Regions from separate parts of the Homo sapiens genome. Here region 2 is linked to region 1. The links are contacts of gene promoters, found by promoter capture Hi-C in human tissues and cell types (Jung and others, 2019). All regions are on one chromosome and are shown on one strand. The core of a region is centred on a gene start or on the middle of the fragment in contact, and the rest is flanking DNA. Distances in the headings are between cores, read along the strand shown.

The links. The method cuts DNA at HindIII sites, captures the fragments that hold promoters and counts their contacts. A contact is called where the count stands out against the background at its distance.
Region 2: a fragment that was not itself captured here is called in contact with the fragment with the promoter of PDE8B in region 1 in 2 of the 25 tissues and cell types used here (IMR-90 fibroblasts and hippocampus).

Annotation. Positions count from the first base shown.
Region 1 is chr5:77,208,391-77,211,941 of GRCh38, reverse strand. PDE8B (phosphodiesterase 8B) reads right to left here and starts at 1,262. Exons shown (of 22, transcript NM_003719.5): 1 at 678-1,262. The coding sequence starts at 1,016. The HindIII fragment of the contact is 4,534 bases long and covers 1-3,255 here.
Region 2 is chr5:77,341,926-77,345,528 of GRCh38, reverse strand. It overlaps PDE8B (phosphodiesterase 8B), which reads right to left. Exons shown (of 22, transcript NM_003719.5): 7 at 598-676. Among named protein-coding and RNA genes, the nearest start is that of PDE8B, 130 kb to the right of the region's middle. The HindIII fragment of the contact is 7,622 bases long and covers 1-3,603 here.

The sequences.
Region 1 (3,551 bases), core at 13-2,512:
GTCCCCTCACGGTGGCTCTGCTGACACTCCGAACTCATGGCCCGGTTCTCTCAATTCTGTCTAGGATGCAGCCAACCCAGAGAAACGTTACAGTGACAAACAACAGGTTCCACTCTGCTCCGTTCCCACATCTCTTAAAACACGAACACTCATTCATTCACAAATCCCTACGCTCGGTTCCTGTGCTGAGACTCCAGCCTGGCTGGTAATCCCAGGTAAAAATCGGAATATGGGGCACTATCTATCCTGGTGCTGCAACTGCACCAGTCACCTACAAGGCACGCAAATCCAGCTCAGTGCTCAGATTTCATTCAACAGGACTGGCCACCGAATGCTCTCAATGGTCCCCACCCCTCTTCCTGCATAAACCAAGCCACAGCCTTCCTGCCCTCAAGGAGGAACAGGCCAGCCCACCTGCTTCCTTCTGCGCTCCCTTCCCCGCCCAGTCCCCCAGGACCAGCTAAGGACGCTTCCAGGACCCCTCCAGGGGCCTTTTTCTGACCACATTTCCTGGGCTCCCATCATCTCCACAAATGAAAAGTAAACTCCTCCTTAGTGACAACCTCTCCAAACCAACCGCCTCACGGTCACCCAACTCCGCCGGAGCCCCCTACCCGTGCGAGCCCCGCCGACGGGGCGGACGGCCCCCACGGCGTGTGCCAGCGCGGGGCATTTACCTTCACGCTGGTGTAGCAGGTCTGAGTCTCGGCCTCGGCGCTGCTGCAGCAGTGGCGCCTCCGGCCCCTGCTGGTGGTCGCGGCGGGGGCTGCGGAACCCGCGCTGCTACCGCTGCCCAGCTCGGTGCGGGCCCTGCGGACGCGGGCTACGCTGGGGGGTCCCGACGCGCGGCTCGGGGGGATGGCGTCGGCGGCGTCGGTCTGGACGAAGAGGCCGGGCAGGGGTGCCGCCGGGCCCTGCGACACGCTGGTGGTCTGGCGGGGCGAGCTGGACTCGTCCGAGTCCCGGCAGTAGATCACGCCGCTCTGCGAGACATGGATGCTGGGGGCGCAGCCCATCCCTCGGCCGGGCTCCCCCGCGCGCCCGCCCGCGCCCGCGGCCGCCGGGACCCAGCGCACCCGCTGCCACCTGCAGTGAGGGGGCGGCCGCGGCGGCGCCCGGACTGCGCGCCCCCCGGCCTGTGTGTCCGCCGCTCCGTCGGGCTGGCCGCGGTGCCCCCCGCCGAGCCTCCGGGGACCGCGCGCGTCACCCCAACTTTCCCTTTTGGGCCATCTTCCTCCCCGAGCGGGGGAGCGCGCATACACAGCGCCCCGCGCGCACCAGCGGCCGCCACCCTCCCCGCCGCGGCGCCCCAAACACGCTCCCCGCGCCTCCGCCTTCCCCTCCTCCCTCGGCGCGGCCCCCGCCGCCGCCCAGCTCGACCTCGCCGGGCTCCCGCACCCGCGGCCCTGGGCCAGGGCGCCCGCCCGCCTGCCCGCCTGCCTGCACCTTCTTTCCCCACTTTCGGTCTGCGCCCGTCCCCTCCCTCCCTCGCTCCCACCCTCCTTCCTCCTCAGGTGCCCCGGCTCCGCGGCCGCAGCCGCCCGGGCCCCACTGCGCCCCTCCGCCCCTCCCGCCGCTCCCGGAGCTCTCCCGACAGGGCAGAGCGTGCCCGCGGCTCGGCTCCGCCGCGGGGCCCCTGTGCGCGGCAGCTGGCACCGCGCCTCGGCGCCCTCCCCTCCTCCTCCGCTGTCCAGAGGCCTCGTCTCTTCTGCACTCATCCCGACGCCGCCCCCAGCGCCCCAGCCCCTCTTCCCCTGAAGGGCTGTGTAAGCCTCTCGCTTTTCACCAACACATTTTCACACATCCCAGAGCTAAACACCAGGAGGCCCCTCCCGAAATGGCAGGGGCCCTACAGCCCAGGCCCACCCACCGCATTTGCTTGCCTCTCAACACACCCGGGAAGTGATGGAGAGACCTCATGGTTCCGTCCTCTTCCCCCAGCCCCACCGCCTACTCCGAAGGCTGAGTTGGATGGTGACCCAGTCTTCAGAAGAAGCCCATTCCATGTCTACTCATCGTTTGGAAGTTTGTGCCAAGGGATGGGAGGCCCTGCGGAGGAAGGCACCCTTGAACACATACGTTCCCCTAAGATCCAAGGCAAGAACAGAAAGAAGCTGTCTGATGGTTCTTGGCTTTCTCCCCCATTTTCACCTCTTCCTTAGGTGTCACTAAATGTTCATGCTGGTTTCTATCCCGTCCAGCCGCCCATGTCAACTGCTGTTCCTCACACTCTGGGCTGGGCAGTCAACAAGGCCTTCCCTCATTCTCCTTGGTGAGGCATGCACAGACTGAGCTGTGCTGGAGGAGAGGAAGAATGCCTTTAGAAGGATGGCTGCTGTTCATCCTTCCCTTGTAAACTCTGAGTTACAGCTGCGAGACACCACTGCCCATTCAGTCACTGGTTCCCGCAGTAATTCCTGCCCGATTTTCACAATGGCACGGGGAGATAAATTAGATGGTCTAAGAAAGGATTTTATCTAGAGTTGCTTATACGGACAAGGGCAGTAACATAGAGGCTTAATGCAAGGCACAAAGAAGTATCCAATTTTAAGGTTTGTTTTTTGTTTTTTTTTCATTCTTATTTTCCTTTTTCTTCCTGGACCACTCTTGGATGTGACTGGATGAAGACTTCAAAAGACAGTTTCTAAATTTCATAGAGAAGCAAGATATCATTCCCAATCCCAAATTCAGTTATACAGGGAGAGTCTAACCTTATTCTTCTACCTTTGCTTCTCTTCTCAGTTTAGCTCTCTTTTTTTGATACAAAAAAACTCCATCTCCAGCTAACCTGGAAAAAGTCTATGCTGTATTTTTTAATGGACAGGCAAATTGCTCATAAAATTTCTGCACAGGTTGGGTCCTCCTAGAAGCAGATTCTGAGATGGTGTTTAGCAGGCAGAGGGAGGCTTTTTAGGAAGTGCTCTTGTAGTCAACATTTGTGGGAGGAAATAAAGGGAGGGAATGGAGGGAGGCAAGCTTGAGCAGAGGGAGAAATTGACCAAGCCTCAGGCATCCCTGCAGGGAGGATTCTGAAGGTGGGATGATGCTTCAGAGTTGTTCTGAGTTGGGGCTGGGTTCTGAGTTGTTCTGGTGGGCCTTTATACCCCAGCATGGACCAGTCTTTACATGCAGGCCACCTCAGCGACCTTGGGCAAGGTGGCTCTCTTCAGCTGAGGCACTGCCCCTAGGAGATGTCAGCTGAGCCAAGGGCTTTCTGCTGGCAGCACTCCCAGTAGCTGGAGGAGTAAGTCCTTTCCTGGCATCATAGCCTCCACCCACAGTTCCCTTCCAGGCTGCTGAGATCCATGTTTCCTTGTCCCATCCATGCCTGTAAGAACACCACATTAAATGGCTGAGACTGAGATATGGGGACAGTCATTCATTTAAAACTAAGCCTCATAGCAACCATCTGCTCTACTTCCAAAGGACAATTTAGGACCTGGGAAAACAACATCAGAGTTAAATTGCAAAAACACTAGTCTCTATACTAGTCCCTGATGTAACGTTCAAGTCAGGGTTTAATGATTCCTAAAGCTTACCTGTGATAATGC
Region 2 (3,603 bases), core at 967-3,466, 130 kb before region 1:
GTACCATTCTGACTTACTTCTATGTCAATAGTGTCTTCACAGATGGTCAAAAGAATTTACCCCGGTTCTAGCTGGGTGCAGTGACTCATACCTGTAATCCCAGCACTTTGGGAGGCCAAGGCAGGTGGATCACTTGAGGTCAGGAGTTTGAGACCAGCCTGGCCAACATGGTAAAACCCAATCTCTACTAAAAATATAAAAATTAGCTGAGTGTGGTGGCACATGCCTGTAATCCTCGCTACTTAGAGGCACAAGAATCACTTGAACCTGAGAGGCAGAAATTATACTGAGCCAAGATTACCTCTGTACTACAGCCTGGGCGACAGAGTGACAATCTGTCTCAAAAAAATAAAATTTTTTTAAACCCCATTTCTGTCAAAGAAATTGCAGGTTCTGATCTGAAGTAATAATTTTTTGTTCTTTATTGAATATCTAATTCTTAAGTCTATCAGTATTCTTTGCACAGCTTGATATTTATTTCTCCTAAGAAAATGTGCTGATACATGAGGATGATGGGAAAGTACTTGATAAAAAGTGTGGCTTAAACCTGAAAGGTTCATTTTGAATGTTAATGATAGAGGTGGTTTCTTTCCATACCTGAATCACGTGGTCATCGCTTGTTATTTCTATGGCTTCATGACAGTGATCTAATGCTGTAAACACTGAATTACAGGCCCTGAAAGTTATAAAAGATTGAAGTTAGTTCTTCTATGAAAACCATTCACATTTCATCTGTTAATTTAACAAAGTAAACAGATACCAGGTTCATCAAATCTACGTACTTTTTGTTATTGCCATGGTCTGAATGCTGATGTCTCCCAACAGTTCATATGTTGGAATCTAACATCCAATGTGATAGTATGAAGAGGCAGGGCCTTTGGGAAGTGGCTAAGTCAGTGGGGCTTCATCCTCATGAATGGGATTAATGCCTTTATTAAAGAGGCTCCAGTGAGCTCCCTTGCACTTTCTGCCATGTGAGGACATAGAGAGGGTGCCATCTATGAGGAACAGGCCCTCACCAGACACAGAACCTGCTGGCACCTTGATCTTGGACTTCTCAGCCTCCAGAACTGTCAGCAATACATTTCTGTTGCTTATAAATTACTCAATTTAAGATACAGTAATGCAACTCATAACGATATTTCAACAATGGACTCAATATACAATGGTGGTCCTGCGAGATTATAACCTAATTCCTATTGCCTAGTGGTGTCGTAGCAGACATAACACCCTCACGTGTCCGTGATGATGTTGGTGTAAACAAGCCCACTAAACTATCAGCTGTATAAATGTGTAGCAATACAGTAATGATGTACAGTATATAACATTTGATAAGATATAACTAGGATACTGGTTTATGTATTTGCTATACTATTTATCATTGTTTTAGATAAAATATTCCTTCTACTACTAAGAAAAGTTAACTGTAAAGCAGCCTCAGGCAGGTCCTTCAGGAGGTATCCCAGAAGAAGGCATTGTTATCATAGAAGGTGACAGCTCCATGTGTGTTATTGCCCCTGAGGACCTTCCAGTGGGACAAGATGTGGAGGGGGAAGTCAGTGATATTGATGATCCTGACTCTGTGTAGGCACCAGCCAAAGTTTGTCTTAGTTTTTAACAAAAAAGTTGAAAAAGTAAAAAAAAAAAAAAAAAAAGATTTAAAAATAGAAAAAAGCTAACAGAATAATGTTATAAAGAAACATTTTTTTTGTACAGCTGTGAAATGTGTTTGTGTTTTAAGCTAAATGTTATTAAGAAAGTGAAAAAGTTTAAAAATATAAAGGTTTATAAAGTTAAAAAGTAGCAGTAAGCTAAGGCTAATTTACTATTGAAGAAAGGAAAATGTTTTAATGAATTTTGTGTAGCCTAAGAGTACAAAGCTGATAAAGTCTATAGTCCTATACACATAATGCCCTGGGCCTTCATGTTCCCTCTCCATTCACTCACCAGCTCACCCAGAGCAACTCCCAGTCCTGCAAGCTCCATTCATGCTAAGTGCCTTATACAAGTGCACCATTTTAACTCTTTTTATACTGCATTTTTACTGTGCCTTTCTATGTTTAAATTCACAAATGCCATTGTGTTAAAAGTATTTACAGTATTCAGTACAGTAACATGCTCTACAGGTTTGTAGCCTAGGAGCAACAGGCTGTACCACGTAGCCTAAGTGTGTAGTAAGCTATACCACGTAGGCTTGTGTAAGTACACTCTATGATGTTTGCACAATGACAAAATCATCCAACGACACATTTCTCAGAACATATCCCCATCATTAAATGATGCATGACTGTATTTCATTATTGCAATCCTAACAGACTAAGAGGGTTAATAATATGCTTTGAGGGAAAAAAACTAATCTTTCAAACTAAATGCATAAACAATAGCATATATATCTGTGTGTATGATACAAAAAGAATTGTAATTCAGTGAAATCTTCGTGGATCATGGAATGGACTATGTGTGTGCTGAATGAAACTTCAACACTAACACGAGGCAATGACGTTCTTCTGTTTCATTCACAGTTGTGGTCATGGAGAAGTTAAGTCTCCAACAATTAGAGAACTTAACTGGGCCCAAATTGGATGTGAGGTATTCTGGCCTTTTGCAACAGACACAAAAACATTTTTTCTCCTTTTTTGCTGTTGTGATGTTACTCGGCTTCCAACCATTCCCCCTGGCATGGTGAAAGGCAAACCCAGCAGAACTCCCCTTGCTGGTTCATTGCACCTCTGCAGCTCTCCAGTGGGGACTTTTCTTGGTGACCTTCCCTATATTTCTGGAATATTTGGAATCAAACTCTCATTTTGTTTATCATAGTTTTAACTAATTTCCTAATCTAGAGCAACTCCAAATACAGTAAGCTATTTACTGTCCAACACAGCAAGCATGTAGCTAGAGCTCTGTTATTTATACTGACTGTTTAAAGAATCCCAATAAAAAGCTTTCTTACACATTACAAAATAAAAAAAAACTGTTGATTTACTGGATTGATGTTTTTTCTTTAAAAAAAAAAACTCTGAAAAATGTTATTTTTTTCCACTCATAAAGGCATTCTAACTTTGTCTTCCTATTTTGATCCGTTTAGAGGGAAGAAGGCAGAAAGAACTGGGTGAAATCTGGCTCTGTATTTTTCCAGTTATGCGACCTGAGGCAACTTTTTGTCTTCAATGGCCCTCAGTTTCCTCATCCATAAAATGAGGATAATAATACGTATTTCACAGGTTTTTGTAAAGATCAAAACAGATAGTTTATGTGAGGCATTTCTCGAAGTGCTTGGGACAATATGAGAATACAACACATGTAGATACCTGTTGTTATGTTTAAGATCACAGAGTAATACTTCTTTGTTCTCTAAGGCTTTCAAAAGGCTTTGGTGAAAAAAATGAATCGTAACCTATCTTTTCTCATAAGTATACCTGAAATGTCAAACCAAGAACTGTATTCAATAATAGTGAGGTATGCGTGCGGAGTGCAATATTTTAGCCAACTGCAAGACGCCATTCCTATAGTTGCAGAAATGAAGATATCAGTGTGAGAAGGTAAGTGTAACAAGTAATCATGATACGGGTTAGAAGAGCAGAGGAGAATATTAACCTAACTCAA